2 separate regions of the Homo sapiens genome follow, and region 2 is linked to region 1. The links are contacts of gene promoters, found by promoter capture Hi-C in blood cells and fetal thymus (Javierre and others, 2016). All regions are on one chromosome and are shown on one strand. Each heading gives the region's core, a stretch centred on a gene start or on the middle of the fragment in contact. The rest is flanking DNA. Distances are from core to core; before and after follow the strand shown. Region 1 holds the start of ZFAND6 (zinc finger AN1-type containing 6). Region 2 has its middle 47 kb from the start of MINAR1.

The links. Contacts are between HindIII fragments. The CHiCAGO score rates a contact against its expected background, and 5 or more counts as called.
Region 2: a fragment that was not itself captured here is called in contact with the fragment with the promoter of ZFAND6 in region 1 in 4 of 17 cell types (naive B cells, total CD4 T cells, total B cells and 1 more); the score reaches 8.0 in naive B cells.

What each region holds. Positions count from the first base shown.
Region 1 is chr15:80,055,922-80,062,164 of GRCh38, forward strand. It overlaps ZFAND6 (zinc finger AN1-type containing 6), which reads left to right and starts at 3,755. Exons shown (of 7, transcript NM_019006.4): 1 at 3,755-3,888. RefSeq lists silencers at 3,433-3,761, 3,458-4,327. The HindIII fragment of the contact is 4,474 bases long and covers 1,822-6,243 here.
Region 2 is chr15:79,382,420-79,388,662 of GRCh38, forward strand. It overlaps a transcript of TMED3 not described here. Among named protein-coding and RNA genes, the nearest start is that of MINAR1, 47 kb to the right of the region's middle. The HindIII fragment of the contact is 3,054 bases long and covers 1,695-4,748 here.

The sequences.
Region 1 (6,243 bases), core at 2,505-5,004:
CTGAATAGACATTACTTCAAAGAAGATACCCAAATGGCCAATAAACACATGAAAAGATGCTCAACATCATTAGCCATTAGGGCAATGCAAAGCAAAACCACAGTGATACACCACTTCATACTCACTAGGGTAGTTATAATCAAGAAGACTGATTATAACAAATGTTGGCAAAGATGTGGAGAAACTGAAACTCTCACTCATTGCTGGTGGTTATGTAAAATGGTGTAGTCTCTATGGAAAACAGTCTGGCAGTTCCTCAAATGGCTAAACAGAGTTACCATATGACGCAGTGTCTACCTACTCCTAGGTAGATACCCAAGACAAATAAAAACAGGCTGGGCGTGGTACACCTGTAATCTCAGCACTTTGAGAGGCCAAGCTGGGAGGACTGCTTAAGCCCAGGAGTTTGAGACCAGCCTGGGCAACATAGTGAAACCCCATCTCTACAAAAAATAAAAAAAATTAGCTGGGCATGGTGGTGCATACCCGTAGTCCCAGCTACTTGGGAGGCTGAGGTGGGAGGATGGTTTGAGTCCAGTAGTTGAGGTGTCAGTGAGCTATGTTCATGCTACCACACCCTCACCAGGGTGACAGAGTGAGACCTCATCTGTTAAAAAAAAAAGTCCCTATAAGAACTTGGATAAAAATGTGAACAGGAGCACTATTCACATAATGGGCAAAAAGTGGACAACAACCCAAATGTCTATAAATTAATGAATAAATGTGTTATATTAAATATTAATACAGTGAAATATTCAGCAATAAAAGGAAATAAAGTGCTGATACATACTACAACACGATGAACTTTGAAAACCTTATGCTAAGTGAAAGTAGCCAGTCTCAAAAGACCACATATTATATGACTACATATTTATGAAATGTCCAAAACAGGCAAAACTAGCCAGGCATGGTAGTTTGCACCCATAGACCCAGCTACTCAGGAGGCTGAGGCCAAAGGATCACTTGCAAAACTTAAGGGACACACAGTAGCTTAATGGTTGCCTAGGGGTGGAGGTGGGCCATGGATTGGGGGAAAGGGGAATGTGACTGCTAATAGGTACAAGGTTGTTTTTTTGTTTTTTGTTTTTTTTTGAGATGGAGTCTTGCTCTGTCACCCAGGCTGGAGTGCAGTGGCGTGATCTCGGCTCATTGCCACCTCCGCCTGCCGGGTTCAAGTGATTCTCCTGCCTCAGCCTCCCAAGCAGCCGGGACTACAGGTGTGCACCACCAAGGCTGGCTAATTTTTGTATTTTTAGTAGAGACAGGGTTTCACTGTGTTGACCAGTCTGTTCTCTAACACCTGACCTCAAGTGATCCACCTGCCTCGGCCTCCCAAAACCCTGGTATTTACAGGCATGAGCCACTGCACCCTGCCAAGGTTTCTTTATAGGGTGACAAAATGTTCTGAAACTGATTTGTGGTGATAACTGCACCACTGTGAATATACTAAAAACCACTGAATTGTATAATTTCTTTCATTTTTCTTTTTGTTTTTTCTTTAATAGGAGACAGAGTCTTGCTATGTTGCCCAGGCTGGAGTGCAATGGCCATGATCCCATTACTAATCAGCACAGGAGTTTTGACCTGCTCTGTTTTGGACCTGGGCAGAGTCCTCTTTCTTAGGCAACTTGATGGTGCCCCCCACCCTCTGTGGACACCAGTGGGTACAGTGCACTACTGCCCAGAACTCCTGGACTCGAGCAATTCTCCCAGCTCACCCTCCTGAGTAGCTGGGACCACCGGCATGTGTCACCGCGCCCAGCAAATTGTATTCTTTAAAAATGGGTAAGTTGTAATGATATGTGTGTTAAATCTCAATAAAGCTTGAGTTTCTAGCTTTAATAACTGGAAACATGGTGTCACCATTAGCCAAAATTGGGACTACAGGAGGAAGAATGTGTTTGGGGGAAAATAAGCCTTGGACATATTGAATGGCTGTGATAAGCACACAGTGAATGTCCTGCTCTGGAACACAGGAAAGAAGATGGGGCTGGAAATAATAATGCATACACAATCATTTATTGAGCATCTGTTACATACCAGGTGCTGTGAATATGTTGTTTATGTACACTGACCGGTAGGTTGCGTATGTATACTGTTTATTGTTTCTGCTCCCTCTCTTCCCCTGTGTAAGTCAATGAGAGAAGGGCCTTCATCTTTCTTAATGCTGTCTCCAGCACCTACAGCACAGGCTGGCAGAGAGTCGGCATATAGCATTTACTGGGTGAATAGAAATGCAGTATCTTTTAACCCTCATAACAATCCTTTGTGGTAGGTTTTCGTTCCCATTTCACACAATTTTCTTAAGAGCACAAAGCTAGTAAGTGACAGTGGTCTGTCTGCATTCCACGTCACAATGCAATACTATAATCTCTCAATCTCCCAGAACGAATCTGGAACAAAGGAAAGCAGTAAAGGTCATGTAAACCCAATTTCTGCAAATTCATAATAACTGCATATGAAAATCCAACTGGGTTAGGTGCTGGAGTTAATACAACGATAAACTGGACAAGAATCGGAAGAAAAATACATTTAAGACAAAATCCGTAAGACTTGACGCATAACCTTGCTAGTTCAAGAAGCTCTTTCACACATATTATGTTATTTAACCCCCACAAATAGCCTAACAAGTAGGTTTTATTACCATTCCAATCAGGCTTTTGTCCTCCACTTAAACTGTACTCCCCAAGGTGACTTCTGTGTTGCTAAATGCTCAACAGGTACTCACTTCAGGCACAACATTTAAGGGAGCACCAAAAAACTAAGTGATCAAGATGAATAACATTTTTATTTTTTAAAATTAAAATTAATGCAAAAAAAAAATCCATGAATAACAAAATACCAACATTTAAAATAAAGAGGATTCTCAGGACTGGGCTCGCCTACCTGGATGCCCTAACGGAACTCCTCATTCACAATAGGATTGAATGACCTCGAACTAAAGTGTCACGTACTTCCTGCTCGTGATGCTCGTGAGCCCGAACGAAGGCTGAAAAACTTCAGGGGGAGCCATTCTGCCTATCACCCCTAGTTCCAGCGCAGCAGCCCAGCGTGCACCACGCAGGTGGGAACTGACCCCGTGCTTTTGGAACAGGCTGGAACTGGGGGTGCTTGTGCCTGTGCATGTATGTATTGCACACGTGTGCATGCACGCTTCTCGTCTTGCTTCTATTTCCAAGTCCCAGTTCAGGACAGGGCAGAGAACTGCTTTCCAGTATGCGCCCTGAGCTCGGACTTTGCGCTTGCAGACTGAGGCGCCGGCCTGCATGGGAAGACAGAAGCTCAGAATTCCTTCCTGCACAAGTGGCAGGTGGAGTGCAACTCTTTTTGGTGCCTCAGTCCAAGACAGGGACACGCCATTCCCTGCGAGGTGGCAAAGGTACCTGAACCTACATAACCAAGCCCTTAAAGTCTCCGCGGCACCTCTTAATCGCCTTCCCGTAGCTATTGGAGGTAGAGAAACCGCGGCGGGAAGCGCCCCAGAGAGGGCAGTGGAGCAAGGGACACTGGAGGTGCAGAAGGCGGAGGAGCATCTCCTTTCGCTCCGCCCCGCCTCTTTTCCTGCCTCCGGCCAATTGCCGTGCGCTCCGAGCCTTGACCCCGCCTCTCCCCGCCTCCTCCGGCCTGCGGCCCCGCCCGCGCCGGTAATAATTAGCGGGCGGGCGGGGCCCGCGCGTCAGCCGCGGGAGCCGGCCAATCCAGTGGCTCTCCTCCGCGGTCGCGTCATAGGCCGAACAACCAAACAGAAAAGTTTAATAAACAGCGGACGGAGGGGCCGGCGGTGGCGGAGCCGGAGCAAGCAGGGGTTCGGCGGCATTACCTGTACCCATTCACCGGCGGCTACCGGCGGCGGCGCGCAGCGTGTCAGGCGGAGAGACCCGCCGCCAGGTGAGGAGCGCGGCCCGCGGGGCCCGGCTTGCCCGGCGCTGCCCCTCCCCCGCCTGCTCCCTTCCCCCACCCGGCTGCAGCTAGGCGAGGCCCGCCCCCGGCCCCTCCCGGCGCCCGAGAGCCGGAAGCGGAGGGCGGCCGGCCGGCGCAGCAGGTGGTGGGCCCGCGGGGGCCGCGGGCGAGAGGGCGAGGACTCCCGGCTCCGGGGGTGGGGGCCGGAGATCGGCGGGTTCACCTCAGACGGCGCGCGGGCGCCCGCGGCCGGGGGCCGCTTCCTGTCAGGGTGGTCGCGCTGGGGTCGGGAGCCTCAGTTCTTCAGGGCCGCGGAGGCCGCGACGCGCGCCGCCCCGAGCGGGTTGCGAGCGGTTGGCTGGCGGGGGTCGGAAGGGCCCCGGGCACACTGGGGCGCGTCAGTTCCCCGCCTCCTCCGAGTCTCAGGTCCTCTTCGGGATGTTTTTCCACCTGCGGCGTTTTTCAGAAACCAGCCGGAGGCAGCCCGGTGTCTCCAACTCCTGACTGGCACCGGGAAGGGAATTGGTCTCTTTTTTTCCTGCTTGGGTTTAGCTTGCTTAGGATTCTAAATTTTTTGTCTGCTTTTTTGAAATAGTTATATTTAAGTTTTAGCTACCTAAAAAAGTATGAAAGAATATTGTGTTTGAAATCTTTTTAACTTGGTTTTTAAGTCACGTGCTAACTATCCTACACAGTTGGGACGCTATGATTTACCTTCACATCTCGGAAGTTGTAACCAGTTGTGAGGAAGTTAGGACCTTGGGGTTACCTAAAGATAATTTATATTAAGTTGTTGGGCCATAAAAACTGGGCAGAATTGGCCACGCGCGGTGACTCAACGCCTGTAATCCCAGCACTTTGGGAGGCCGACGCGGACTAATCACGAGGTCAGGAGATCGAGACCATCCTGGCCAACATGGTGAAACCCTGTCTTTACTAAAAATACAAAAATTAGCTGGGTGTGGTGGCGGGCGCCGGTAGTCCCAGCTACTGGGAGGCTGAGGCAGGAGCATCGCTTGAACCCGGGAGGCGGAGGTTGCAGTGAACCAAGATCGCGCTACTGCACTCCAGCCTGGCGACAGAGGGAGACTCCGTCTCAAAAAAAAGCCGGGCAGAATTAATGATTTTGAAGCTCCGAGAAACAGGATTAAATTCCTCTTTCAAACCGAAATCGGAATTTGATTTTTTAAAAGTGTAAAATACCATAAACTTTTAAGGTTAGTTGTTCGGTAACCATGTCACCAATTTTAAGGCACTTTCTGAGTTGTGTATAGTTTCTCCAGAGCCCTAGGGGAAATGTTTTGCAAAATATGCACGTTTAGCTTTCCAAAACAAGTTGTCTTTTTTATTTTTACTTTTTTACGTTTTAAAATGTGTTTAAAGGGAGACATCACAAATGTGCAGGAGAAAATACAGGGGTCGGTGGATTTATTATCTTGTAGTGATAACTTTTTGGGTGTATGCATATGTCAGAACTTACACGTTTTACACTTCAAATATGTGCAGTTTATTGTCAACTATATGTCAGTAACGTTTTTAAGAAGTAACCAAAATATATTTAATACTACCAAAAAAAAACACGGTAAAGTATAAGCAGATAAAAACATCATAAATCCTTGATGACTCCCCCCAAACCCAAAACTGGAACATTACTAAAACTTGCATTTGTCTATGAGTTTCTTATCTGTGCAGTGGATTTTGTGTATGTCACTTCCTTGACTTTTTGAAAAATAGTTTTATCATATATGTTTGTATGCCGAAACTGTGTGGCATTTAATTTGTTTTTCTTTTGAGCTTTATAAAAATAGTATGTGGCTGTAGTTTATTTCATTGCTTTATGATATGTTAATCTGCCATAACTTATGGGCACTTCGACCGTGTTTTTATTGTTTTTTATTTTGTTTTGTTATAAGCAGTCTTGCTCTGTGAACATTTCTTGTTTCCGGCTCTTGGTACACAAGTACAAGAATTTCTCTAGAGTAAATACTTAATGTGGATTGCATTAGACGGTATTAGGTAATCAGGACTAGAATAGATTGAATTACTTAGAAATAAGATGAATGAAAAACATTAGGATTCTCTATTATGTTTAAATAGAAGATTCATAGCCGTAGTGATTGAACTAGTTCAACCTAGTTGAACATTTGCATGAAAACCCAAAATTCCTGTTAACCTATGTGTAATGACTCTCTTACTTTGAAGTCACATTGTAAAAAGTCTGGCACTGTTTGGTATCTCCTTTTCAATGCAAAAATAGTATAGTAGAAAAAACGCTGGATTGTATGTAAAATAAATTATCCTTTCTGCTGTTCCTCTCCTCCCCTCTAATCTCTAGCAAATTAC
Region 2 (6,243 bases), core at 1,972-4,471, 670 kb before region 1:
GGCTGACAGTAGTACCTGCTTGGAGCTGCTACTTGCTGATACCCACATGAGCCCAATGCCAGAATGCATAGCTAAAGTTCTGTTGCAAAGGGAGAGGTCATTCTTCCAGTGATGCCTGGCCTGCACTGGCAGCACCTATCCCACAGTGGCCCTCTGGCCTTCCCCAGGCTACCAGAAGCTGTGTCTGCCCTTCACAATTCTTCTGGGTGCTCAGCTCCTTTGGCTCAGAAGTTCACTACCTCTACCCTCTAAACTCCTGGCTGGAAACCTTAATCCCTTTCTCTATGTCCTCCACTTCACTCTGAACTTCTACCAGTATGGCTAATGGCTTTTTCAGCCACCTATCCTTCCTGCCACTCCTCATCCTGAATTTCAATCAGATCATCTACTTGTGAAGTAGTGTTTTCAGATATAGGTGCAGGGAAGCTTCTTTTATATTATCTTTCATGGGTATCTCATACTATTGTTCTTACCAACACAATATAGTCTTTATTCCCATTGACAAAGTCAATTACAAGGGCATAAACACGATTTATTTCTTTTCCAAGGGTCCCAGTGCTTCACCAACACCAACGCCACCACTAAGGGTTCCAGTGTGATCACCATCTGGGATCTACCTGTTCCAACTGCTTGTTTACCTCCTGTGCATGCTCCACGGGACATGGCTCTTTGCCTGTAGATCGCCAGGTACCCACAGCTTTACTGCCATGGTGCACTTCACTTCCTGCCTTGTCCACTCTCACCTGCACCAGTTATTGCTTACGTGGTAATCAGTATAGTCATTGATCTTCAGGGACCATCCAGCTACCCGATTTCCAATGTGGCTGCCTTTGCTATCTTGTTTTGGAAAATGTCTTAAGGCTGTTGAAGATTATATCTATTTGATCCTTTGTGCCCTTAGATGGAGAAAAGAAATGTATTGAGTAGAAGCTCTGAAAGTTTGGAAGGTCCCTCACACCATCCTCAGGTTCAGAGTTTCACTAGATGAAGTCACAGAACTCAGCAAGCCAATTTACCCATGGTTACAGTTTGTTAGAGCAGAAGAATACATTTGAAAATCAACAATAAGAAAAGGTACAAAAGGTAAAGTCTAGGAGAGACCAGGAATGGAGCTTCCCACTTGTCGCTCCCCAGTGAAGTCATACAGACTGCACTTATCTCTCCCCGCAACGATGTGTGACAATATGCCTAGGGTATTGCCAACTAGGGAAGTTCACTTGAGTCTCAGTGTCCAGAGATTTTATTGAGGAATCAGTCACATAGATATGGCTAGCCACCATACGACTGACTTTGATCTCTAGCCCCTCCAGAGATAAAGCTGATGTTGTGTTGTCCAAGGACCTCACCATAAATCTTATGGTTAGTACAGACTATCTGGCATGGCCCAAGGTCCTAGGTTTATAAAGACACTTTTGAAAGCCAGGACATTCCAAGGGCTTAAATGTTACCTTCCAGAAACTGGGGGTAAAGAGCCAAAACTTTCTTTGGGTTAATCCTTTACTGCATAAGCTCTAAGACCCCAATAATTCATGGCCCTATTTCTGGGGCATGATTCAGCCCAGAGAAGAGATCGGAGAAACCTACCTCCCATCATCAAAGAGCTCCTGGATGTTCCATCAAGCAAAACTGTGGGAGGAAATTCAGTGTTCCTATGGAGATGGTGGTGTGACCTGAGCTGGCTCAGAGGTTCTAAAAGCTTCTTCTCAAACATTGGCAAGGTCACAGGTACCCAATAAGGTACATCTTCCCTTTCCTTCAACAGTCCAAAACCTCCAGAACTCTCTCGAGGCAGTGATTAATACTAAACAAAGGACTTGAAGGATAGGAGGGATTCTGAACAGGGTAGAAATAAATAGTAGTGTGGGATATTCGTATAGTTTTCTTGGAAGAGGTAATATTTGAGTAGGATCTTGAAAAATGAGTAGACGTGTAAATGCCACAAGTAAAGGCAAAGATATATACATCATTGTCGGAATAGGAAAGAGTGTGGCACATCTGGGAATGATGAGGGGCCTTATGCAGCTGGGGGAGTCTATTGGTCAGACATGAGGCTGGAAATGGTGCAAGGGCTAGATAGGGAAGGGCTTCATATGCGATGCCAAGAGGCACAGACTATGCTGTGATTCCCTGGCAGTATAGCTGGTGGGACAAAGAGAAATCAAACTCAAAAAGTTCCCCTCTTGTCTACCATGTGTATACTCAAGTAGGTGATGAGATTGTAGGAAGAAGGTAGGATATAATAGCAGATAATTGGGTAGCCATATAGAAAAATCAAATAAAATTTGACCTTTACCTTATAAAACATATTTTTAAAAACCCAGTCTGGGTGTGGTGGCTCATGCTTGTAATCCCAGCACTTTGGGTGGCCGAGGTGGGAGAATCGCTCGAGCCCAGGAGTTTGAGACCAACCTGGGTAACATAGTGAGACCTCATCTGTATAAGAAATGAACAGCAGAGGGGCGAAGATGGCCAATTAGAAGCAGCTGCAGTCCGTGGCATTCACGGAGAGGAATGAAAGGCGTGAGTGAATACAGCACCTTCAACTGAAATATCCAGGTTCTCACATTGGGACTGATTAGGGAAACAACTTAACCATGGAGAATGAAGAAGAGCAAGGTTGGGTGATGGCCCACCTGGGAGTGACACAGAGCTAAGGGAAGTGGTGAGTGATTGTGTGACCCTGGAAAAACATGCTTCTCCCACGGATCTTTGCAACCTGTGGATCAAGAGATGCCCTTGTGAGCCCACACCACCAGGCCCTGGGGCTGACACACAGAACTGTGTGGAGTCTTGGCAGAGTAACTGCTCAGGCATGCACAGAGACCCAGCAGCTTTATATACTCTGGCCCTGGGATCCCCATCAGATGTGTCTAACTCAGGCAAGGTGAGAGGTCCGCACCTACCCCTAGGAAGGGGGGCAGAATCCAGGGAGCTGATTCTGTGGGTCCCACTTCCACAGCACCTCACAAATTCTTGGGGCTCCATCCCATCTCAAGCAGGCTCCACCCAGTTGCCGGTGGCTGGCTGGAATGTCAAGCCAGTGGATCTTACTTTGTGAGGTGCTGCACCTGGGAAGGTGGCTGCAGCTGCACCTGGGGAGTTCCCATCCCACCCTGCTGGAAGGAGCAGGACTCCTGCTTGTCTCTGGCTCCTGCCTGCTCCCTGGAGTGGAAGGCCCAGGTCTGCAGTCACTGGTTGGGTGCCTGCAGCTGCACCCAAGAGGGCAGATCCTGCCTGTTCCTGGCAACCTCGAAGAGCACAGGTAGGCTCAGATCCACAGCCACAGTTTGGGCAGGGGTCCATTCTGCTCCCTAGAGCGGGAGGCCTGGGTCTGCAGCCACACTTTGGGTAGCTACAGTGGCACCTGGGGAGCTGAACCCCCAACTTAGAAGGGGCAGAGCTCCCACTGGCTTCATGGAGTGTGCAGTGCCAGCCGCAGCCAGTGTGATAGCAGCAGCCTCTGCCATCATTAGGTACTATTTATTATCTTGATTTTACAAATGATAAAACAACTGTTGGATTTCAGCCCAGGTCCACCAGAATCCACAGTCTTCATTTAACCCCCATGTTCTACAACACTAGACCAGGGGAGAAATTTGCACAGAAAGTAGTATGAATAATGGAGGCTGGGAATCAGAGAAAGTAGACAGAGAAAACAGGCTTAAAGGACTGAATGAATTACAGATAACCTGTATTTTCCAAGGGCTGGGGGCTGGAGGGAGGAGCAATTAGATTTTAATGGGTACGGAGTTTCAGTTTTGCAAGATGAAAAAGTTCTGAAGATCTATTGTCTAACAATGTGAATACATTTAATACCACTGAACTGTACACTTAAAAATGGTTATGAGGGTAAATTTAATGTTATGTGCTTTTGACCATAATAAACAAAACAAAATAACTTGTATTCACTCTCTGCAGGTGAGGGGCCACTTTTCAGAGCACTCTCCTCATCTCTACCTCACTAGGGCTTTGCAGCAAAAAGTTTGTCTGATCATTTTATGTTATTATATGCTACATTGTTCCTCATTGAGTATATGCTGCTGCTTCTTTGACTATATGTCCTCCTGCTTGGAGGTTTGGCTTTTCATTCTCTAAAAGGGGTATTTTGATGAATAACAGTTTTTAAATTTTTTTATTTTCAAGATGGAGTCTCACTGTTGCCCAGGCTGGAGTGCAGTGGTGCGATCTCAGCTCATTGCAACCTCCGCCTCCCAGGTTCAAGCAATTCTCTGCCTCAGCCTCCCGAGTAGCTGGGATTACAGGTGTGGGCCACCATGCCTGGCTATTTTTTTTTTTTTTTTGTATTTTTAGTAGAGACGGGGTTTCACCATGTTGGCCAGACTGGTCTTGATCTCCTGACCTCATGATCCACCCGTCTCAGCCTCCCAAAGTGCTGGGATTACAGCCGTGAGCCACTGTGCCTGGACTTTAAATTTTAATGTAATATAATTTATCAATCTTTTTTGTTTATGGCTAACACTTTTCTTTTCTTTCTTTCTTTTTAATCTTTTAATCTTTTTTTTTTTTTTTGAGACAATGTCTCGTTCTGTCACCCAGGCTGGAGCACAGTGGCACCCAGGCTCACTGCAGCCTTGAATCCTGGGCTCAAGCGATTCTCATGCCACAGCCCCCTGAGTAGCTGAGATGACAGTTGCATGCCACCATGCCTGGCTAATTATGGCTTCTACAAAATGCCAAACATTCTCTGCCCCCAAATTAGGAAGAGAGTCTCTTGCATTTCCACTAAAAGCTTTAGAATTTTGCCTTTTATATTTAAGTCTATAATCCCCCTGGATTGTTTTTAGTGTTTTAGAAAGTAAGGGTCCAATTTTATTTGATTTTTCCATATGACTACCCAATTATTTCAGTTTCTTATTGAAAAGATTATATGTCCCCCTCTGCTTTGCAGTCTTATATTTGTCATGAATCAAATATCTACATATGTGTCAATCTGTTTCTAGACTCTTTATTTCCATTCATTAGCCTATTTGTCAATCCCTGTGCAAATACTACAGTGACGTGATAATTGAACCTTTATAAGTGTTGACATTTTGTGGGACAAGTCCTCTCACTTTGTCACTTTCATGGGTGTCTTGGCTATTCTTAGCTGTTTGCATTTCCGTGAAAATGTTAGAAACATCTAATGAAATTAAAATACACACACACATGCACCTGCACACACACACACACACACACACACATACACACACACAAGTATTATAACCCTGTTCAGATTTTCCCTGGGATTACATTGAATCCATAGGTTGATTGGGGGAGAAATGACATCTTTGCAAGACAGTTTTCCAATCCATTCCTTTCCATTTACCTGAGTCTTCTTTCAGTTTCTCTCAATAAAGTTTTATATTTCTGTTCATGTGAGTTTATACATCTCTTCTTGTCTGGATTCCTACATACCTGATACTTCTTGATGCTATTATAAGTAGAATTTTTTAAATTTTCATTTTCTGTTTGTTGCTGGCATATAGAAGTAAAATTGATTTTGTTTTCTGACAATTTTGCTAATCTTTCTTAATTATTAAAAATATTAAAATTAACTTTTAATGATTCACCTACGGTACTTCTGGGCAGTCTGTGAGCACAATCATAATATCTGAAAATATAGGATTTTTTTCCATTCCAATCTTTATATATTTTATTTCTTATCTTACCATTTTAAACTGGCATGATGCCCAGTAAAGTGATGAATAGGACTGGTGATAGTGAGTGAATATTTTTGTCTTTTTCCCAATCTCAGAAGGAAAAACCTTCAGTATTTTACCATTAATTATGATGTTTTCGGTAGCCTTTTCTTTCTTTTTGGTCTATCTCTTTAGACAATAGGGAAGTAATAAAAGGGAAGTCTGCTTTTATTCCAAGTATACTAAGAGCTTATCTTTAACCATTAATGAATGATGAATTTTATAAATGTTTTATTCTATTTTTTGAGATGATCATATTATCATGTTATTTTTCTCCCTTAATCTGTTGACAAGGAGAATTATGTTTTTTTTTTTAAGACGGGCTGAGTAGTATTCAATTTTGTATATACATATACCACAGTTTCTTTATCCACTCGTTGATTGATGGGCATTTGGGTTGGTTTCATGATTTTGCAATTGCAAATTGTTCTGCTATTAATATGCATGTGCAAGTATCTTTTTTGTATAATGACTTCTTTTCCTCTGGGTAGATACTCAGTAGTAGGATTGCTGGATCAAATGTAATTCTAGTTTTAGTTCATGA